Regions from separate parts of the Homo sapiens genome. Here all the other regions are linked to region 1. Evidence: promoter capture Hi-C in 16 types of primary human blood cells and fetal thymus (Javierre and others, 2016). All regions are on one chromosome and are shown on one strand. The core of a region is centred on a gene start or on the middle of the fragment in contact, and the rest is flanking DNA. Distances in the headings are between cores, read along the strand shown.

The links. The method cuts DNA at HindIII sites, captures the fragments that hold promoters and counts their contacts. A CHiCAGO score of 5 or more calls a contact.
Region 2: a contact is called between a fragment that was not itself captured here and the fragment with the promoter of TMEM70 in region 1, in 1 of 17 cell types (total CD4 T cells). The highest score is 6.9, in total CD4 T cells.
Region 3: a fragment that was not itself captured here is called in contact with the fragment with the promoter of TMEM70 in region 1 in 1 of 17 cell types (naive CD8 T cells); the score reaches 5.0 in naive CD8 T cells.
Region 4: a fragment that was not itself captured here is called in contact with the fragment with the promoter of TMEM70 in region 1 in 11 of 17 cell types (total CD4 T cells, neutrophils, monocytes and 8 more); the score reaches 11.8 in total CD4 T cells.
Region 5: a contact is called between a fragment that was not itself captured here and the fragment with the promoter of TMEM70 in region 1, in 1 of 17 cell types (M2 macrophages). The highest score is 5.5, in M2 macrophages.

Annotation. Positions count from the first base shown.
Region 1 is chr8:73,973,668-73,978,311 of GRCh38, reverse strand. It overlaps TMEM70 (transmembrane protein 70), which reads right to left and starts at 2,117. Exons shown (of 3, transcript NM_017866.6): 1 at 1,821-2,117. The coding sequence starts at 2,030. RefSeq lists silencers at 1,769-1,818, 1,984-2,199, 2,249-2,328. The HindIII fragment of the contact is 7,182 bases long and covers 1,533-4,644 here.
Region 2 is chr8:73,021,749-73,026,392 of GRCh38, reverse strand. It overlaps TERF1 (telomeric repeat binding factor 1), which reads right to left. Exons shown (of 10, transcript NM_017489.3): 4 at 4,091-4,177; 5 at 1,422-1,571. Among named protein-coding and RNA genes, the nearest start is that of TERF1, 15 kb to the right of the region's middle. The HindIII fragment of the contact is 7,360 bases long and covers 1-4,644 here.
Region 3 is chr8:73,271,062-73,275,705 of GRCh38, reverse strand. It overlaps a transcript of C8orf89 not described here. Among named protein-coding and RNA genes, the nearest start is that of C8orf89, 14 kb to the right of the region's middle. The HindIII fragment of the contact is 5,103 bases long and covers 1-4,644 here.
Region 4 is chr8:73,309,979-73,314,622 of GRCh38, reverse strand. The region is part of intron 2 of RDH10 (retinol dehydrogenase 10); the gene reads right to left. RDH10-AS1 (RDH10 antisense RNA 1) reads left to right here. Exons shown (of 6, transcript NR_125388.1): 6 at 1,226-3,717. Among named protein-coding and RNA genes, the nearest start is that of RDH10, 18 kb to the right of the region's middle. The HindIII fragment of the contact is 4,885 bases long and covers 1-4,528 here.
Region 5 is chr8:73,458,932-73,463,575 of GRCh38, reverse strand. The region is part of intron 13 of STAU2 (staufen double-stranded RNA binding protein 2); the gene reads left to right. Among named protein-coding and RNA genes, the nearest start is that of STAU2-AS1, 41 kb to the right of the region's middle. The HindIII fragment of the contact is 5,817 bases long and covers 1-4,644 here.

The DNA of each region.
Region 1 (4,644 bases), core at 868-3,367:
AGTTCAAGACCAGCCTGGCCAACATGGTGAAACCCCGTCTCTACTAAAAATGCAAACAATTAGCCGGGCATGGTGTCTGGCGCCTGTAATCCAGCTACTCCGGAGGCTGAGGCAGAAGAATCGCTTGAACCTGGGAGGCGGAGATTGCAGTGGTCCGAGATCACACCACTGTACTCCAACCTGGGCAACAGAGCACGACTCCGTCTCAAAAAAATAAAATAAAATTGTAATGAAAAGAACTTGTCACATGAGGTGACATAAGGAATTCTCCCAAATAATCTACAGAGTTAAAGAAATAAATTGGCTGACAGAATGGCTTGCCTTAATTCTAGTCACAAGTAGAAAACTGCAGAGCTGGAGTTTGTTAGCTTAGCATCCCAGCTCTCAGGTTTCTAGGTCTAGTGTGACCTTGAACAAGTAAAAATAGTAACAGTTTCTTCTACTCCACTGTTAATGACGACATCATTTCCATTCTATTTAAATGCAACACCTTTTCAAAAAATAAATACATTTAGCTGGTGTAATGGAACACGTCTATAGCCCCAGCTACTGGGGAGGCTGAGGTGGATCACTTGAGCCCAGGAGTTTAAGGCCAGCCTGGGCAACATGGCAAGACCCCATCTCTAAGAAATAAAATTTAATTTTACTAAAATAATTTAAGTAAAATACTCCGCAAACTCACATTATATTTAAAGTCCAGGCCTTTTACAAATACTGCTAAAATATTTATATGATAGTATTAAAGAGATCAAATCTTTCTCTAAAGACCTTGTAAATACCGTGTATCCCCTGGTCCTCTTATTTCTTGACAAGAAATAAAATTTGGCTGGGCACAGCGGCTCACGCCTGTAATCCCAACCCTTTGACAGGCCGAGGCAGGAGGATGATTTGAGGTCAGGAGTTTAAGACGAGCCTGGCCAACACGGTGAAACCCCGTCTCTACTAAAAATACAAAAAAAAAATCAGCCGGGGTGTGGTGGAGCGCGCCTGTAATCCCAACTACTGGGGAGGCTGAGGCAGGAGAATCGCTTGAACCCGGAAGGCGGAGGTTGCAGTGAGCCAAGATCACGTCACTGCACTCCAACCAGGGTGACAGAGCGAGACTTCACCTCCAAAAAAAAAGAAATAAAATTTACTTGAAATCCTACATCAAATTTCAAGGGAACAGAAGCGTTCCCCATACATCTGAAAATGAGTTTCACAGTGTATACACTTCAAAATGTAAAAGGCATGCCTAATTCCTCAATGCTGAAATGTAATTAGATTCCAATTTCCATTTTAAGCATTTCTTCCAAGTTTTAACCAGGTTTGCCAATCCTGATATTTTACAGAGTAGAATTAGAAGACAATTTATTCAGATCAAAATAAAAGAATTAACATCTGCATCCCCCTTTTCCCAGGGACCAAAGTAATTCTTAAAAGTACAGCCACCTCATAAAAGTAGAACAAGCTCAAAGTCAGGTTAACCTGGCTCTTTCGGTTCTATTTCCAGGTGCTGCATCCAATTTTTTGCAAATTAACACTTCTAAGCTTCTACTCAAGGGCAGAAAAGGAACTACATATAGTTGTCACCACAAACCCTCTGGATTTGGAACTACCATAAAAGTAAGCACTTTCCAGCCGTTCTCCTGGACTCGCGGAGGCTGAGGACCCCGGGGCCCTCGGCCTGCTACTTCTGCAAGCCCCGCAGAGGGGGCTCCTCCCGCGCTCCAGCCACGGACACCTGGGAGAGGTCGCGAAGAGCCGCTGGGGCTCCCCAGGCCCGACACGACGCCCGCCCTCCCCGCCTCACTTGGGACACCAGACCTCGGACGCCCTACCTGCGCTCGACCCGGACGCCGGAGAAGGCGCGCGGCTCCCGAAGGCCCCGTACTCCAGCCGGCTACCGGCCCCGAAGGCCCGCTGCTGGAGGACGCCCGGGAGACAGAGGCCCGGGGACCTCGGAGCGCGGCGGCCGCACACAATGCAGTCCTCCTTCCGCAGAGAGGCAGTTCGACCGCCCACGGGCTGCCCAACGCCAGAAACAGCATCACGCGGGTGACGAGCGGCTGCGGACGCCCCAGCTGCACGAGTCCACGACTGCGAGACACGGCTTCCCACCCGACTGCCGCACAAGTGGCGCATGCCCAGCCCGGGACGCCTGACTGGCAGCTGGGCTGCCTGCGCGTGCGCAGAATCTGCCGCCCGCCTGCCGCCCGCCTGCCGCCCGCCTGCCGCCCGCCTGCCGCCCGCCTGCCGCCCGCCTGCCGCCCGCCTGCCGCCTTCCCGGCCGCGCGCGTTATCCGCCAGCTGAGCTGGGAGCCCGCCGCTCTGTCCTTGGCTCAGCGGCTCCTCCTTCCTAGAATTTTACCTTCTTTATAACAGTGTGGAGGGGCAGAGGGCTGTACGAGAATGACAATGCCCAGAAGCCAGGGTTAAATATTTTTTTTTCTCGTGGACGACATCACTAAAAACTGTTTCCTTTGCGGAAAATGATTCTAGCCTGTTGGCACAGAAGAAAGAATATACGATTTGAACAAAAATGAGTGATAACTTAATTGAATCATCGGGTTGGAGGAAAATAAATGGAATTGTTCATGTAATATTGATAGGTGTTACCAGATTTGTCTTCGGAAATCATTCACATCCATATACACATTGATTCATTACTTGTTAAAGAGGTACTGAATCTATTGCCAGGACTGAGCTAGGAGCAGAGGATACAAAATACTAGATTAAACTGGGAATCCACAGTGCTTAAACAGTGGAGGAAAATACCTGAAAATTGGCTAGAATATAATGTAATACAATTGAGACACCGCAATATACAAAATGTGGCTGGCCGTGGTGGCTTACACCTGTAATCCCAGCGCTTTGGGAGGTTTAGGCAGGAAGATCTCTTGAGGCCAGGAGTTTGAGACCAGCCTGAGCAATACAGGGAGACCCCGTCTCTACAAAAAAAAAAAAAAAAAAAAAACCTAAAACAAAAATAAGCCACACATGGTAAGTGTGTGCCTGTGGTCCCAGCTACCCAGGAGGCTGACATGGTAGGATTGCTTGAGCCCAAAGTCGAGGCTTCAGTGAGCCAAGACCACACTACTGCACTCCAGCCTGGACCACAAAGTGACACCGTGTCTCAAAAAAAAGAACAAACAAATGCCACAGAAGTACAAAGAAGAACATGATTAATTTTGCCTCAGAATGTCTTCAGACTGGCTTCACATTTAGCTCAGTCTTGAAGGATGAGCATCTTAGTAATAGAAACACACTTTTGTTTACCACTGCAGAACTATACATGTTTTTGATTTGACATGTTATTTGCACCGGAGAGGAACAAATTCATAGTCTAAAATAATGTGTGGCCAGGGGCGGGAGCTCACGCCTGCAATTCCAATACTACGTGGAGGCCCAGGTGAGAGGATCACTTGATTCCAGGAGTTTGAGACCAGCCTGGGCAACAAAGTGAGACCCTGTCTCTACAAAAAATTTTTAAATTAGCTGGGCATGGTGGCACCTGCCTGTAGTCCCAGCTACTTGGGAGGCTGAGGTGGAAGGATCACTTGAGCCCAAGAGGTTGAGGCTGCAGTGAGCCCTGATTGCACCACTGCACTGAGTGACACAGCTAGACCCTGTCTCAAAAATAAAAATAAAAATAAATCAATAGAATATGATCATGTTGGCAACTCCAAATACTGTCTATTGGGGGGAGTATTCAGAAGGAGATAATGATAATACCTCTATATGGATAACTTTATTTTATAAAAAGTTAGCTTCTACTTACATTTTGTTTATTTTTATTTTAATATTTGTTTTAATAGTAGAGATGGAGTTTCACCATATAGCCCAGGTTGGTCTCAAACTCCTGAGGCTCAAGCTATCCGCCCACCTCAGCCTCCCAAAGTGCTGGAATTACAAGGGTGAGCCACTGTGCCCACCTTTTATTTTGTTTTTGAGACAGGGTCTTGCTCTGTCGCCCAGGCTGGAGTGCAGTGGCACCATCATAGCTCACTGCAGCCTTGACCTCCCAGGCTCAAGTGTTCCTCTCACTTCAGCCTCCCAAGTACCTGGGACTACAGGCCACGTCACCATGCCCAGCTAATTTTTGTATTTTTAGTGGATACAGGGTTTCCTTTTGTTGCCCAGGCTGGTCTTGAGCTCCTGGAATCAAGGGATCCTCCCGCCTGGGCCTCCCAAAGTGTCACAGAACCTGAGCTACCACACCTGGCCTATTTACATTTTAAAAACTCTTCTGTTTAGGGTAATTCACTCACAATCAATATTCACTCTATTATTTTGCTGATATATTTAAAATTTTCACATAAAAATGTTTTTCTTAACTATATTAAGAGAACTCAAATTTTTTATCTTCTGTAAAGCTGTTCCCCCTACAAATACTGTAAGTAAATGAAAATAAAAACTTTTGTTTGATCTATTTCTCAAAATTTCTAAATAGATAAAATCAGATTATAGTCTGAAAACTCTGTACCATAGATTTACATAGAATTGTTATTTATGTTAGATGGATTTTCCAGTTCCAGTAAGTTAGAGACATTTGTTAAATATAAACTAATGGGATTTTAGAATGATTTTAAGGATGTTTTTAGGCCGCGCGCAGTGGCTCACGGCTGTAATCCCAGCACTTTGGGAGGCCAAGGTGGGCGGATC
Region 2 (4,644 bases), core at 1,216-3,715, 950 kb after region 1:
GGTAGCTGGGACTACAGGCATGCGCCACTATGCCTGGCTAAATTTTTGTAATTTTTTTGTAGAGACGGGGTTTTGCCATGTTGCCCAGGCTGGTCTCAAACTCCTGGGCTCAAGCGATCCACCCATTTTGGCTTCCCAAAGTGCTGGGATTACAGGCGTGAGTTACCGCGCCTGACTAGAAATGTGTTTTTTTTTGAGACAAGTCTCACTTTGTCACCCAGGCTGGAGTGCAGTGGTTCAATCTCAGCTCACTACAGCCTCAACCTCCTGGGTTCAAGCAATCCTTCTGCCTCAGCCGCCACAAGTAGCTGGGACTACAGGCGTGTGCCACTATGTCTGGCTAAATTTTTCTATTTTTTCGGTAGAGATGGGGTTTTGCCATGTTGCCCAGGCTGGTCTCAAACTCCTGGGATCAAGCGATCTACCCATTTCGGCCTCCCAAAGTGCTGGGATTACAGGCATGAGCCACTGCGCCTGACCAGAAATGTCTTTTTTTTGAGACAGGGTCTCATTTTGTCACCCAGGCTGGAGTGCAGTGGCTCAACCTCAGCTCACTACAGCCTCAACTCCCCAAAGTAGCTGGGACTACAGGTGTATGCCACCATGCCCAGCTTTTTTTTTTTTTTTTTTTTTTTTTTGAGACAGAGTCTCACTGTCGCCCAGGCTGGAGTGCAGTGGCGCAATCTCAGCTCACTGCAAGCTCTGCCTCCCAGGTTCATGCCATTCTCCTGCTTCAGCCTCCTGAGTAGCTGGGACTACAGGCACCTGCCACCACACCCAGCTAATTTTTTTGTATTTTCTTAGGAGAGACGGGGTTTCACCATGTTAGCCACCTGACCGTGTGATCCGCCTGACCGTGTGATTCACCTGCCTTGGCCTCCCAAAGTGCTGGGATTACAGGCGTGAGCCACCGCGCCCGGCCCAGCTAATTTTTTTGTATTTTTTTGTAGATAAGGGGTTTCACCATGTCGCCCAGGCTAGTCTCGAACTCCTGAAACTTGGCCTCCCAAAGTGCTAGCATTACAGGCATGAGCCACCGCGCCTGGCCTAGAAAAATTTTAAAAGGCCCTTCTTTAATACAATTCTATTTTTCCCCAAAAATATGTTTAAAAAGTCTTTAAAATTTACTTAAATTAAAATATTTGCTTTTGCCTATTTCTTATTTTTAATTCATTCTAAGTTTTCCCTTCAACTTTTTCTTTTGAAAATTTCCCCAAACTAATTTTGAAAAGTTACAAAAGTACATATCACTCATAAATCTTTTAATTAGGTCCACAAAATGTAACATTTTACCACACCTTTCTACAAAACCACAATGAAAAATTCTGATTAATTTTAAAGGATTTCTATTTCAAGTATTCTCCTTTATTATAACGTTTCCTTTAAGTCTATTATTAGTCACTCTTGAATAATATGTATACCTTCATTAGAAAGGTTGATGATTTTTCACTTAGCACATAATTCACATAACTCTTAATTTTCTCCATCATGTGGTTGTAGCTGAAGTGTTGAAAAAAGGAATGAAATGTATCTTTCTGAGAGATTATCATAAGCAATTTGCTTTTGAAAGGCTAAAGAAAACAGAAGAAATATATTAACATAAATCACACAAAGTTACAGATACAACGATTTTTGTCACATATTATTTAATTGAAAAGAAATCACTTTACAAACTCAAGAGACACAGATATTTTTAAAATTAAGTTTTAAATGGCATGCCAATGTACCTTTTTCTGACTTCTTCTGGCCTCTCCTCATTTTAAAAAATATTTTACATTTTAGACAGATTCAAAAAGATATGTATTATAAACCAGAGTATCCATTACCCAGTTTCAGAAATAAAACATAATCAATATGGTTAAAATCCCTGTTTACTACCATAATCTGATTGTATTCCCTTTCCTCTCCTAACTGTAACCATTACCCTGAATTTAGAATTCACCATTCCCAGGAATTCCTTTACTTGCACTACATATGTATGTATCCACAAATATGTAGCATTGCTTAGCATGGTTTTAACTCTACAAATAGTGTTGTACGATGCGTATTCTTTTGAAACTTGCTATATTTCACTCAACTCTATGTTTACAACATTTATCCATGCTGATTTGATATTCCTAGAAGTAGTTATTTTTGCCATTGTAAAGTACTACACTGATCAAAAACATCACTTATTCATCCATTCTTCATGCCTATTGAGGGATTTAGGCTACTTGCAATTATTGTATCGCTCTTCAACATTTTTCTACATTATCTTCTGTGCATTGTATGTGTTTTTCTTGGACAGTAGCTTTTTCAATGCTGGCTGCACAATAAAAAAAGTAGAACTTTAAAAAAATTCTTAGGCTCAATCCCAGAGCAACTGTCTCAGGAAGGCCTTGGTTTTTTGTTGCCTTTAAACTTCATGGCTTTTAAAATATGCAGTTAAAAGTGAAACCAGCTATTCTAAGGTATTGTCTAGAAGTGGAATTGCTGGAATGCATGCTTAAAATATTTTGCTAAAATGATCTCCCAAAGAAGTACCAATTTACAGTCTTGAAAGGAAGTTATGGCAGGCAGTACAATCATTTCTCAATTTGTTGAGACAACTGTTGATATTCTAAGACATTTTAATTGATGCCAGTCTGAGGCATGGAAAGTGGTATTTCAATATAGTACTTAATATTGCCCTAATGAGGCAACATTAATACTAGTGAGGTCAAGTACTTATCTTAACCTCTTAATATTTCCTGGCCATTAAGTTTTCCTCTTCTGGGAGGTATAAGCAGAGTAGAATTTTCAGTAGTCTCATAGTGCTATGGAGAAAATATTAAGGGTAGAAAACCCAACAGACATATCAGGCTATTGGCTGAAATTTCTGGAGGGTTATACCCCAGGTACAGGGTTAAATTAGAGATAGACAAAGCCTTGCCAAAACTGCCCAACCTACTCTCTACTAGGCCCAGGTTCCTTACTGGATTAAGGTAGTCACTCTCCAACTCTATCTACTAACATTATCAAGGGAAGGTGCTCAATCTGATTATTCATCAGGGAAACAAATTAAAATCCAACAGGATAGCACTACATATTTGCCTGAATGGCTAAAATGAAAACCCAGATACAAGGTGTGTGGAGCAACTAGAATTCTTTCACACTACTGGAGGAACTGACATAACTACTTTGGAGAACAGTTTGGCAATATCTACTAAAACTGAGTATGTACACATCTTATGACTAATCAGTTCTACTCTTCATATAAACCCAAAAGAAATGCATATATTTGTTCCACAAAATGTATGGGGGAAAAAATTACACCTGTACTGAACACATACAGATTTTTTGTATCTTTTTGTTCCTAAACAGTACAACTATTTACATTGTGTAAGTTATTATACATAATCTAGAGATGATTTAAACTATACAGGAGGATGTACATATGTTATATGCAAATACTATACTATTTTATTATTTATTTATTTTTAGAGACAGCGTCTCTCTCTGTTGCTTAGGCTGGAGCGCAGTGGCAGCGTTATAGCTCACTGCAGCCTTGACTTCCTAGGCTCAAGCAATCTTCCCACCTCAGGACTACAGTATTGCGCCACCACACCTGGCTAATTTTTAATTTTTTTGTAGAGAACAGGGTCTCGCTGTGTTGCCCAGGCTGCTCTTGAACTACTGACCTCAAATGATCCTCCTGCTTCAGCCTCCTAAAGTACTGGTATTATAGGCATGAGCTATTGCACCGGGCCTCTTTTTACTTTTTTAATATGACTACTGGAAAATTGTATTTATTTTTCATTATTTATTATTCCTTCTTTTTGGAGAGATGAGGATCTCTCCATGTTGCCCAGGCTGGTCTCGAATGCCTGAGCTCAAGAGATCCTCCCACCTCAGCCTCCCAAAGTGCTGGAATTATAGGTGTAAGCTACTGCGTCCAGCTTATTAGAAAATTTTAAATCACATATGTGACTTGCGTAGTTTTTCTGTTGCACGGTATTATTCTATACTGTTTAAAAGATAAAGCATTTCTTTTCTCCTCCAATTTTCTTTCAGTTTTCCTCACTCTACATAAACACTTCTAAAATTCTATGGTTTTAATTTAAATAATTACCATATGAGAATTTGGATCACCAAATATTCTTTCAAAGACTTCTTCTGCTTCTTTAAAGTTGCCATTTTCCATACAAACAGCTATAGCCTAAAAGATGAAAAATACCAACCTTAGACTGCGTTTATAAATACCCAATAGTTATTTAATTATTAAGATAACTCAGGTAAGTCTGAAATCCTCTGTTGAGAACATTTTTATGTAGCTTAATAATTTTAATTTGATAAAAGATATAAAATTATTTTTCAAAGACAAAATAAGTGTCGCTTGAAATGACATGAAAAATTTGCACTGGTCCCATGCACATTTATTCATAAATGCCCAGCATTCTATCTCTAATTTAGACCAAATGAAAAGTATGTATTAATAAATAAATTAGAAGCCATACCACACACATTTAGGACCCACCTAAATATTAATTTTGAGTAAAAGGGAAATGAGAGGAGGTAGATGATGTTTGTGATGATTAGGATACATAAAATTTGCTAGTCAGATCCCTGGAAAATATCTAATACACACCTAAGAAGCTAGATGTTTTTTAATGATCATTTTTTTCA
Region 3 (4,644 bases), core at 979-3,478, 700 kb after region 1:
CTACAAATAAGAATAAAACAAAACCCTGTACAAAAATGGGGAAAGCATAGAAATAGGCATTTCACAGAAGAGGAAACCTAAGTGGCAAATAAACACTTTTAGGGAAGTAAAAATTAACAAGGTACCATTTAACATCCAAAGATTAGCAAAAATTAAAATAGCTTAATTGGCAGGGTACAGTGGCTCATGCCTGTAATTCCAGCACTTTGGGAGGCTGAGGTGGGTTGATCACTTGAGGTCAGGAGTTTGAGACCCGCCTGGCCGACATGGTGAAAACCTGTCTGTACTAAAAATACAAAATGTTAGCCAGGTGTGGTGGGGCATGTCTGTAATTCCAGCTACTCCGGAGGCTGAGACAGGAGAGTTGCTTGAACCTGGGAGCCAGGGGTTGCAGTGAGCTGAGATCAAGCCACTGCATTCCAGCCTGGGTGACAGCAAGACTATGTCTCAAAAAAAAAAAAAAAAAAAAAAAAAGAACTATTACAAGTGTACATAAGAATGTGGGTAAACAAAAATTATGGGAATACAGGTAGAGATAACCACTTATTCAGTATAAATTAAGATTAGTACATGGAGAATAATCTATTAGTAGTAAGTAAAGTTAAATATCTGCACATCTTACAAACCAGTGAATCCAATTTTAGGTATATTGCCCTGCAGAAACACACATGTGTATTAGGAGTCATTTACAAAGATATTAACTGTCATATTGTTTGTAATATTAGAAAATTCTAAACAATTCACCTTACCACTTGTAGGAGGATGGATAATTACATATTCATATAATCGATATGATATAGACAGCAGCTAAAATCAATAAACTAAATCTATATGTACACTCAATCTCAGTCTCATGTGACTCAATCTCAATGACTCAATCTCGAGTGAAAAAAAGTTGCAGAAGATATGTGTAACTTATTTATGTAAAACTAATAAGATATCAAACAACTCAGTATCTTTTCTCCTATACCTACGTGCAGTTAAAATATAAAAGCAGACTTCAAGGATTCACACCAAATTTATGAGAGTGGTTGCTTCCGGAAAAGGAGCATGATGGGGGATGGAAAAATATTTGCTGTCTTTCCCTTAAAAACATAGGACGCAAACATGCAAATTCTTAAATTTTGCTAATATTTAAGCAATATTAGCATATATTTAGCATAATGTTAGGGTGATAGGGAAACAAATGTTACATTTCTCTCTGTACCAATGCATTTTTTAAAGCAAACAAAAGATAACCTAAAAAAGATGAAATGGCCAGGTGCGGTGGCTCACACTTGTAATCCCAGCACTTTGGGAGGCCGAGGTGGGCGGATCACAAGGTCAGGAGGTTGAGACCATCCTGGCTAACACGGTGAAACCCCATCTCTACTAAAAATACAAAAAATTAGCCAGGCGTGGTGGCGGGTGCCTGTAGTCCCAGCTACTCGGGAGGCTGTCAGGAGAAGGGCGTGAACCCGGGAGGCGGAGCTTACAGTGAGCTGAGATCGCGCCACTGCACTCCAGCCTGGGCGACAGAGCAAGATTCCATCTCAAAAAAAAAAGATGAAATATGGTCTGCTGTATACTAAATAATATAGTGTCAGGTAAGCACCTGTCTCCCCTCACCCAAAAAAAGTCCTTTTGACAAGCAATATAATATAAAAGAGAAAATAGTTAACAGTAATCTCAAGGTGGTAAAAAAAATTAGATGAACGTTTCAGAAAAGCATAATTTGGATGATATATCATTACAAAATATAACATTTTGACCTTTTAATGGTATTTCTTAGTTCTATTTAGTAGTTTTAAGAGTCATAAAATATACTTAACTAAGAAATAAAATAATTAGAATACATTCCATATAGTTACCAAGGTTAAGCAAGATAAACAGTTGGATATTAAGAAGACCATCTTATGTATCAATCTCCCATTTAAATTTTGAAGTTTGAAGTATCTTTCAGAAAAAAAAAAAAAAACTGGCATCACCAACAAAAAAGCACCACAAGTTCTCACTCTGGGCGCAGACTTCACGTGGAACTGACAGCCTGGGCCCCAGGCTTCAGGCTTCACTGGGGACCGCCTCTTTCCACCTAGGAGCCTGACTCCTGCCGCCATCAACCTGCCGTCCATGGTGCCCATGGCGCCCAGGCTATTCATGCAGAGGGGTTCCTGCAGGGCCAAACTGAGCTGCCCTCAGCCCCACCTCGGCCTCCCTCCTGTGCTCATCAGTGACCACAGTCTGGAGAGGGCCAAGGTGGCAGGCGGCTGGCATGTTAGTGCCTCCCTGAGCGAGCACACGCCCAGCCAGGTTGTGACAGTGCCTGGGCTCGGCCATAACTTTGCTCTAAAATCAGAGTGGGCACTGGGAGCTGGGAGAGGCCAGGCAGGGGAAGCAAGCACTTTGAAGCCTACAGAGGCAAGTGGTTTCCGGGGCCCTGAGAGTGCAGGGATGCCCAGGTCTGCAGCCATGGCTGGGTGGCTGCAGCTGTGCCCAGGAACATGGGACTTTTGCCCCGCCACTCAGAAACGGGCACGGCTTCTGCCTGTTCCTCGCTCCCACTGGCTCCATGGAGCATGCAGCCCTGGCTGCACCTCCCCCACTGCAACTGGCATCATGGCAATGACCACTCCAGGCCGGTTGCCGCTGCCATCAGAAGTTTTGAACAAAATTCTGAAAACTTTTGAGGCTCCTAATTTCTCTGATTTTACTTACCTTTTTCCTTGGCATTATAGGAGAGAGATTAAGGGCATCATCTTTGCAGTTGGGAAGGTGGCCTGAGTTAGATTTCCATTTCAAACAGTTAGTAGCTATTGGATTTTGTTATCTAAACCCCAGGTTTCTCAATGTAAAATAGAGATGATAATAATAATAGTGCCATCCTCCAAGGTAGGCTCAATATTTACACTTTACAAAAATTAAGCAGCCATAAAAAAATGATGAGTTCATGTCTTTTGTAGGGACATGGATGAAGCTGGAAACCATCATTCTCAGCAAACTATCGCAAGGACAAAAAACCAAACACTGCATGTTCTCACTCATAGGTGGGAATTGAACAATGAGAACACTTGGACACAGGAAGGGGAACATCACACACCGGGGCCTATCATGGGGTGGGGAGAGGGGGGAGGGATAGCATTAGGAGATATACCTAATGTAAATGACGAGTTAATGGGTGCAGCACACCAACACGGCACATGTATACATATATAATAAACCTGCACGTTGTGCACATGTACCCTAGAACTTAAAGTATAATAAAAATATATATATATTAAAAAAAAGAATTAAGTGGGCTGATATAATGTGCATGTCATAGTGCTTGGTACAGTGAGTATTCAAGGAATGTTAGATGTTTTAATTTTATTATGATTACAATAATAAGTATATTAAGCCCTGATTAGGTCCTTTCACAAATGGGCATAGAAATGGACAATTTTCCTGAGTTAACTGGTCAAAGGTGGGAGAGAGGAGAAAGGAAAAAGGAACTTAGAAAATGTTTCTGAATCTGCAAGAAAGATATACTTCTCTCATTAGGAATTAATTGAATTGCCAGTGGTAAAGGGGGAAAAGGTGGAGATCTAAGTTTGTAGTTTCACCCTGAAAGGAAAGAGGAAGAGGCATTGAGTCAAGCTATACATCCCCTACCCCAGCCATTAGTCGATTCTTGGCCTATAATAATAATCATGATGATTATGATAATAATTGCAGCTATCATTTCTTTCTGTGCTTAAGAAGGATCCCTTACTGTGGTCTGAAATGAAGATTCTTGCTTGAGAATTAAAGCAGTGTACTAGGTTATATGGTTTGGCTCTGTGTCCCCGTCCAAATCTCATCTTGAATTGTTCTCCTATAATTCCCACATGTTGTGGGAGGGACCTGGTGGGAGATAATTGAATCATGGGAGTGGTTTCCCCCCTCATGATTGTGAGGCCTCTCCAGCCACATGGAATTGTAAGCCCAATAATCCTCTTTCTTGTGTAAATTGCACAGTCTCGGGTGTCTTTATCAGCAGCATGAAAATGGACTAATACACTAGGCATTTAGTTAGGTGCTGTCTTAGTATGTTTAGTGTTGCTATAAAAGAATACCTGAGGCTGGGTAATTTATAAAGGAAAGTGGTTTATTTCACTCATGTCTCTGCAAGCTGTACAAGAAGTATGGCTCTGGCATCTGGTTGGCTTCTGGCAAGGGCTTTTGTGTTGCATCAAAAAATGGCAGAGAAAGTCTAAGGGGAAGTGGGCACGTGCAAAGAGGGACCTAACCCAAGGGGCATCCTGGCTTTATCACAACTCCCTCTCCTGAGATGTAATCCATTTCCCCAGAACCAATCCAGTCTCATGAGAGTGAGAACTCACCCACTGCCAGGAGAAGAGGCACCTAGCCATTCATGAGAGATCCACTCCCATGACCCAAACACCTCCCACTAGGCCTCACCTCCCAACACCACCACACTGGGGGTAAAAGTCAGCATGAGATTTGGGGAGGAAACAAACCATATTCAAGCTATAGCAGGTGTTTTCCTTAAGTTACCTTTAAACTTCACAATGACTCTGTAAGGCAGAGTGTGCTAGTTCTCAAGATTGGGAGACTGAGGCATAGACAGGTTGACATGAAAATAAATGGCTGCCTTATCCAGGAAGGGGTGGCAGGAATGGGGGATTG
Region 4 (4,644 bases), core at 837-3,336, 660 kb after region 1:
TCTGCTCTGTGTCGGGCAAAGGCAGGCTTGGGGTAGGAGCACCCACATCAGGACCACTCGGGTTTCTTTTAAGCCTGTGCTCAGGTTCCCGCTGGAGCCCAGTACACGTGACTGAGCACGAAGGCTGTTAATCATTTCCTTTGCTGCCTGAATAGAGGCGAGCAATTACTCCAAACTCCTGCCTTATGTCTGGGGCGCATTATTAAATAAACTTTGATCAACATGAATTCTATTCCATACTTTGCAAGAAAAATGCTATAGTTGGGTGACTAGAAAGCATCACATTTTCAGGAATTTTCCCAAGTAACCTGACTAGTTTTCTTTTCTAATTACTCTTGCCCTCAACAGTCTGGTAGATGACATTTGAGATAGCACAGCATATTCTGTCCTTGACACTGCTTGACAGCACAAAGAAATCTGGCACTTTGCAATGAATTATTAATGTGCACAAATATTGTAGCATGTATGAGATAGAGACCAGCAAAAGGTGAAGTGCTAGTTGCCATGACACCAGTCAGTTCAAGCTAAGGTTCATAATCTTTAACTTTGTCTCAAAGAGTCGTCAGAAGAACATAAAGGGCAAATCTGAAACACACAGCCAAACGGCTTTGGTATAGATTAATGCCTGTGACGCATGGGTGGATCTGAGAGGGCAGCACAGATAATTTGCTGACCAATAGGACTGCTGTGTTACATCAAGTATAAGGATGGATAGATCAGGAGTTATCATCTAGTAAAGGGGTCTCTAAATGCAGTACATGTGCTCAGTCTCCAGAGTGAGCTGGTGCCCATGCTGGTTGGCAAGGTTTGCTAGATGCTAAATGTAAGTCAGAGAATTGCACTCTATTGCAGTGTCCTCTTTACTGTCTAAAAAACAGAAGAGGACATCAAGTTCTTCAGCAGGAAAATATGGTTGACTCTTGATCTAGGGGGTCTCAAAGTCAGTAACCAATATATGAAACAGGAAGTTTACAGAATTTAGAGTTGGAAGGGGCCTAGGGATTTTCTTATTTGCAAAAGAGAAAACTTTTAATAACTGACTTTGGCTATTAAATGTAGAGCTAGAACTTTGACTACCATGATTAATTTGATCACAAGATTCCAATACCATATTCTGCTACCAGCTGACAGGGTTGCTGTGTGATTAAAAAAAAAAAGGGAAGGACATTCAAATGGACACTGACATTCCTATGAAACATGCTTAACAAGTCTAATATCTCCTTAGCTCCTCAGGGTTCCTCTTCAAAGCACTGGGCACTTTGAAAGATAACTGTAAAGGTCACATTTGTAATATAAGCAAGAACTTCTTAAACAGACATGTAAGTAACTGCACATAGACGTGACATGTCATAGCTCGAGAAATCTTTTAAAGTAAAGTTTACGCCAAATTAACTTCCAACAGCTCCGACTCTCCAGACCATTCTTGGTACTCTTAATGACAGACTGTGCAGCCCAAAGCCTGCAGCTGCAGTGTCAGGACAAATTAGCCTAAAGTGGAACAAAAGTCAATGTGAAGAAATGTGGTATCCGGCAAGGTCTGACTTTTGAAATTCTGAGATTGATGACATTTTAAAGGTGTAGGTACAACAGAATGTGTTTTCCATATTTGTAAGCAATTCTAGGTTCCTGAGCACTGAGAGAAAAGCAAAGTTAATTTCTCACCGTAGGAGAAGGCCTTATTATTTTTGTGCACATACACGACTGTCCTGTGATCAAGAAAAGGCATCTTTTAAAAGAATCGTTTTGAAATGTTTATCTCTTATTTGAAATCCAAGAAAGAGTAGACATTCATTTCCAAACAGGACCATAAATCATATAACGCTGGGAGAAAGGTCAACACCACCAGCACAGCACAGTTTTCTCACATATGCTTAAGGATTTTCAGAATCTCCAAATAATAGCATGATGTAAACTTTGAATAAAAAAGAACACCATCAAGACTCCACTGAACAAAGAACGTCTGACTGGAAATGCTTACGGCACCCTTCACATGGTTGGGCAACTTTCCTCTACTGTTCCACCCCTTCTGCCTGTGCAGCTGCCAGAGTTAACTTATCTTTATCAGAATCACAAAGGAACACTCTCCTGCTTATTTACAAGGCTAAAATGACATCTGGTGGCGCTCTTCTCTGAGAACTCAGTCACTGTTCCTGGAAAATGATGCAAAAGCACAAACTTTTGCAGGGCAACTGTAGGAGTATTCTTGTGCGTGTGTGTTAAGTACTAACTGCTGATGTTGCTCAAATGTTCCGCTAGTCCCTGTAGCCTCACAATGTTTTATTCATTGTCCTGTGATCAATTCAAAAAAGCCATCTTTTATAAGAATGGTTTTGAAGTGTTTATCTTTTATTTGAACATCCAAGAAAGAGTAGACATTGACTTCCACAGGGGACCATACCTCCTATAATGCCTGAAGGTGCTTAAAATATAGTGAACTGTGTTAAAGTTAATAGGATACATCATTAGTGTGTTAAAAAATGTAAAATGGTGACATACTATCAGCTCACCTGGGTAAGGAAAATATGGCTAAAGTACCTCTAAAGGTATCTACTTATTAAGTATACTGACCAAACTTTAGACATTTTACTTCGACCACAGAAAGTATTATTTGAAAAAAAAATCTTCATTACAAAATTACATATTTAATTAGGAAGTAAAACCTAAATCTGTATTTACTAGCAATGCCAACTTTAAATATTCTAGTTGCAGCTGACAACAGAAATTCTAACATGCATATGTTGTTGCATAATAGCCTCTTTTTCCTAGTTGGGTATGTTTGTAGAGACAGAAAGGTCCCCTGACCAATTGTGCAATAGAGCCCCAAGATACTTAAGCCTGGAACTACTCTCTCAGACTTAACAAAATGTTCATCTTAATTTCTATCAGATTGGGACAAAACATTCACTCTTTAGATAATAGAGGAGAGACTAAAGAACATGTCATAATAGTCAAATTTGTGCCAATGTTAAATCTATCCCTTTAAAAACATGTATTATTGTGAGGCCGCAGGGATTAGTGCAACATTTGAACAGAATCAGCAGTTAGTACTTAACACACATGCACAAGAATACTCCTACAGTTGCCCTGCAACCAAGAAGCTAATAAAAGAGCCAGGCTTTTCAAATGAACACCTCGATGATGACACCATTAGTTATTCAGCAAAAATAAATGCTTCATTAACTTGTCTTCCCACTGTTAAAGGATAGGATGAATTTACCTCAAGGCAGCAACTCAGATATTAACGTTCCCTTACATTTTAGAGCTCACTATGCAGAAATACCAGAAATAAGGTGACTTAAAACTCAATTTGTCTGTAAAATACACTGGCCTTTGGAATCCAGAAACCCACTTGGTCCTGACTGCCAATTACTTGACCTTCCTTTTGTTACTTGACCTCTCTGGATCTTGACTAAACTCATTTGTGAGACAAGAGGAGATGTCCAAAGTTTTTTCATCTCAAATATGTTACGATTTAGATTCAACAATTATTTTTCCAATTCCTACCACACACCCCGAATACTGAGGTCACGCTGAGGTATTATTTGCCTAAGACTCTCGTAAATGACTCAATAAGGGATCAACTCCATTAGTGCAGTGGCCAGCATTGAGTGATCAGCAAAAATATCTCATTGAGTATTTCTATGATGTCACGGCTGTGCCTTTTAACATAATGTAACTTGAATGTATGCCTCTTATCTATTAAAAAAATTACAAATTATTTGAAACAATCATCCTTCTTCCGTTTTACTTGAGTCCATGGAGGCTCAATGTGTTAAACAATGAATGCTGAACAGTGTTTCTGAAATGCTGTTTTCCCTCATCTTTCCCCTGCCGGGCCCTAGATGATCAAACGAGTGTTTGATGATCTCCTTCAGCCTCAGGCCCCTCCCCCTATTTAATAACTCTTTATGGAATAATGAAAATAACCCACAAAATTGCAGCCAAATAGCTTGCCAAACAACAGGCTGTCATTGATCTCTTTGCTTTGCCCCAAACTCAAACTGCTTCTCAGAAATTGTAATAAAGACAGATCTTCCAAAGGGCAGAGGCTTCGGTTCTGCTCTAGTGACCAGTAACTACTTCCATGACGCATAAACACATGCATGCGAGCTTAGCCACTGCTCCGGCCATCTGCAGTGGCAGACTTCTTAGCCCCTGTTCCAACAGCACAGCTCTCAATGTCCCCATCATCAACCCCTGTAATTCCTAAGTGTAAATAGTTCAAATTCTTCCCTGCTTTCTAGTTTGCTTACTGTGAAATCTTTAAAAAGTTAAAATCTTTACATAAATGAAGGGTAAATATATTCAAGAGATTACACCTGAAAACTTATTCTGTTTTTAAACATGCACTGTTAGAACTTAGAATTCACTCAACACATATGAGGGTCTATGAGGTACCTACATTGGGATAGGCATTGTTAAAAAACAAAAATAAGTATTTGTGAACCTCTTAAAGGATTTTAAAGATTGCAGATGGCAACTTTCCTATAAATCAGTGGTTTGGTACATTAGAATCACCTGGGAAGCTTTTCCTCCTGGTGTTCAGGTCACCTCTCAGACCAATTATACCAGAATCTCCAATGGGAGAATCAGGCATCAGGAGGCAACGTCCCTCAGGTGGTTCCCATTTGTAGCTGAGTTTGG
Region 5 (4,644 bases), core at 840-3,339, 510 kb after region 1:
ATCAGACTAAGGCCTTGAGCACTTAGAAAAACTTAGCAACCTGAACTGTGAACATTAGTAACACCAGCTTCTGTAATCATTACAGTGATTTATTTTTCTGTAGTCTTTCTTATGAAGCAGTATCCTTTATGAACAAGTACTCAGAAATTCATACAGAAACCATATTTACTCTCCAGAACTGGCACATAGGAAATGAAGTAGATATGGGGAATACAGTTTTTCTGGACAACATTGTTATAAAAGTGTTTTTAATTTGTATTTCATCAGTTCGAGGCAGGTCAAAAGAAAGTAAAAATAGACCAGCAAAAGTCCAGCACATGCATGTTGCCATGCACAAGGTCTATGGCCATTTTCATTCCTAAAGACCAGCATACTGCATTGAAGGTACAAAGTCAGATAAAACTGGACAGTGTTCATCTTGTCACTTTCTAGTAAGCATCATAACTACTAAATAATTTGTCCATGATCACACAGCCAGGGGTCAAACCCAAGTCTACCAGATTCTGCTTCTCCACTGTGCCTCAGGAAGTGCAAGTGGAGAGGCCGGCAGGCAGGCATCCTGGAAGGAAGAAGAAGGGGCTTTCCCATTGCTTCTTCATATGACTGCCTTCAAAGAAGTCATTATTCTGCAAAAACATGTTCAGAGAAGGTTTCTTCACCATCATTGGCTACACCCTCTGGAATCCCATAGTCTTTGCTGTGTATACTCTAAAGGCACTCAAAGAAGTTGTCTTTTTTTAATACTAGATATCATAAAGACATTAAATTTGACTAACACATATTTTGGCATATCACAATATAGGCAAGGCTTGAAGTGCATAGATGCAGCAGGAATAAGGAAAATCTTTTACATATTTTTTAGGTTTATAATGTTTTATTGGCCAGCTGTGGTGGTTCGCGCCTGTAATCCCAGCACCTTGGGAGGCCTGGCAGGAGGATTGCTTGAGCCCAGGAGTTCAAGACCATCCTGGGCAACATGGGGAGACCCTTTCTCTATAAAAAAAATACAAAAATTAGCTGGGCATAGTAGTGCATGTCTGTGGTCCCAGCTACTTGGAGGGCTGAGGTGGGAGAACAGCTTGAGCTCAGGAGGGGGAGGTTGCAGTGGGCCATGATCATGCCACTAAAGTCCAGCCTGGGTGACAGAGCGAGACCCTGTCAAAAAAATAAAATAGGCCAGGTGTGGTGGCTCACACCTTTAATCCCAGCACTTTGGGAGGCCAAGGCGGGTGGATCTTCTGAGGTCAGGAGTTCAAGACCAGCCTGGCCAACATGCCAACATGGGAAAACCCTGTCTCTATTAAAAAAAAAGAAAAAAAAATACAAAAATTAGCTGGGCGTGGTGGCAGGCACCTGTAATCCCAGCTACTCAGGAAGCTGAGGCAGGAGAATTGCTTGAACCCAGGAGGTGGAGGTTGCAATGATCCAAGATCATGCCACTGCAGTCCATCCTAGGTGACAAAAGCAAAACTCTGCCTCAAAAAAACAAATAAATAAGTAAATAAAAATAAAATAGGTGAAATTTTTTTACCGATAGATGTGAACAAAAAGTCATTCTATATGGGGGATAATAAGAGAAAAGATGGAGGGATGGGGTGATGTGGCAGGCATGGCTTAGGTAATCAAAGCAGACAAAGAAGCAGGAAGATCGGATTGACAAAGGTGAAGAGCCTGGGCAGAGCTGCTGAGAACCAGACAGCTGGGGCCCTGGGTGTGGCCACACGGCTGGGCAGAGTCCCAAGTGCAGAGTTCTTGGGGACTGTCCAGTTCCATCCCTGCAGGCTCTGAGTTTGAGTTCCCCTACATTCCACAGATTGGTGAAAGCCCGCGGTTGCGTTCCTGCCTGGCTTCTGCTTCTCCCCACCTCATTCTCTCCCTCCTACACAGTCTCCATCCTCCTCCTACTTGCTGCCGTGCTTGTGCTTGTGCTCTCTGTTGGCCTCTTTGCTGCCACCAGCATGACATGATGCAAGTGGTATCCTCTCCTTAGCATGTGCATTTAATACATAGAAGAAATGGTGTGGAGCTTCCAAAGTCACCTCATATTTGCCATGTTACTTATGACTCTACAAGGTTTATGATTGTCTTTCAAACCACAGAGGATGGCTTCCACTGCTTATCCAATAAAGCATAGCTCAGGTATCATTTCCTGTATTACTCCTCTGAGCCCCATCTTCCACCTACCCACTTACTAAGGCTGGAATAATTATTACTCCTTTGAAACTAGCCCTTACTAGGAAATACTCAGATGGCCTGTAGTGTTTTCCTTCCCACTAGCTCATGAGCTGTTTTTGATCTGTCGTGTATATCTGTGTAATAGTGAGAGATATTATGTCCTGCACATCTCCTGTGTGCCAAGCACTCTGCTAAATACTTTGTGTGCATTGTCTCATTTGAGGATAGTCATTGAAGAAACTGAGACTTAGAGGGGTAAAGTAACTTCCCCTAAGTCTCCTAGCCAGGTTTCAGGCCAGGTTGGTCTGACTCTACAGCCTGTATCACCACCCACTACCCAATACATTCGAAAGAACTTGGCACACAGTTACCCAATGTATGTTGGGTGAACTCAACTGAAAGAAGGAAAATAGTGTGGAGAGAGGAGAGGAGCAGGCACACCCCAGAAACAGAAGCTCAGAGCTACAGTTCAGGCTCTCGGTCTTAAGCTGGTTCTTGTGTCAATGGCTAAACCATTGGAATGAATTGCTCTCAGAAGCGTATGAGAAATCTGAAGGATGTGACCAACCTACCATAAGATAATGTTAGGACAATCTTAGAGCTCCTTGTGACTTTGGTTTGAAGAATATATATAAAAATAAAGCTGTGTATAGTGTCTGGCACTAAATAATTATGGCTGTCATTCCAGAAGCAACTGATAATGCCTCTGTTGTCACCAAAATGGAGACCTCCAAAGCAACTAGAGAATGCACAAGACAGCTCAAGTCTAGAAGACCATGGATCTAAGAGTACTCAGAGCCTTAGCAGAGAACAAGTCATCCCTGCCACTTAGGCATTTTCCTCAAAAGGCCAATGTAATAATTATTTAGCCATCCTTTACCTCTGTTGGGTACTCACATCAATTTCCAGGAAAGGTGACAAGGAGTTTTTAAGCTAGATGTCGTCAAATGTGTTTAAACTTGTTCAAAACCTCTCTCGTCCCCTGTAGTAATTCACCATACATGTTTAACAAGAATTAAGAGCCCCCAAGTATTGAATCAGTAATTTGTGCTGTCTGTCAAATAATGTCTCTCTTCTAACCTGGAACAGATGACCTTGCCCAAACCACTTTAGTCAAAACAACAACAATGCCCTCCTGCCCCCATTTTCTTCTAGTTTTTGTTTGATTAAATATAGAGACCACAGCTATTCCGTAGCATCGAAGAGGCTAGAAGGAATGTTTTGCCAGAAACATAACTTGTCAGGTACCTCAGGCTAAGACCCTGGGAATCTTAAGAAGATACAGATACATAACTTGAATTGCATCTGAGCTTGGGTTGGCAGCCACTGCTGAGTAGAGGGAGAGGGTGAAGTGAGATGTGCTGACCTATATGAATGGTCTAATAGAAGGGGAATGATCCAATTAAGCACTGCCCTAGATTCCTCCTGCAGCATTCCTCTGATCTCCATTGTGTATTCACGGCTGGGGCTGGGGACGCAGGAGGCCCCAAGAGTCAAAGGAGCCGTGCCCGATAGGAGTTGCTCCTTCCAGAGACAGTGGCTGCATTGAGCAGATGATGCGGAACCAAGGACAAGTATTCCTGAAATATGTTTTGAAAATTCCTATTGAATGCATATATTCAGCAGCATACCAGGGCCCTTAGTAACAGCCCGTTGGGTGTTGTGACAACAGCGTGGGTGTGATGACAGCAGCATGTGTGGGATGTGACGATATGTGGAGGCGGAGCTGCGTGAGCTTGAGGTTGGGTTTTGATTTCAGTGGGAGCTCTGCACATGGTAGGGCTGCTGGTTGAGGTCTTCGCGGAGGGGATCACCTTAACGAGAGGCGACTTCACACAGGAGGCCCCCCTTCCTGACAGGGTGAAGGGTAAAAATGCAGCTCCAGAAACCAGAGTGCTTCCAACTATTTAAAGTTCCCCTTTTAAAAAGTTTGGACATTCAAGATGGCTCTCAGAATGTATTTAGGGGTTTCTGATTTCTATATGGAAAATGTATTCTCAAAGGCTATTTCTATAGACTGGAAAAATATGGCTTTTTTGGTGCAAATCTAATAATAAAGCCTATCTGAAATAGTTCATATTATCTGTATTCACTAGGAATTTATTCTTCATGTTAGAAGAGGAGCTTGGTTTCTTGGCTTCTCTTCTGTGACTATACACTCTCAAAGTAGGAGCACCCTTTAAATGTTATTATTCTTTTTCAAATTATGTCTCTGCATTTACCTTAGTAATATAAAAACCTTGGCAAGTTAACACCAAAACAGCAGCCGTTAGTTGTTAAAGAAAAATGAATATAGGAAAGTTCTTTTTGAAAAAAATCCTTAAGATGAAAATGTGATTACTTTCATGAAAGTAGGCTTCCATTCGATAAAATAATTTTGTCAAATCATTTAGTCATTGTAGGGAGTTGGAATGATTTAAATGTTTTATAATGCACTGTTGTTTTCCACGAAACTCTAGTGTGGCCCTG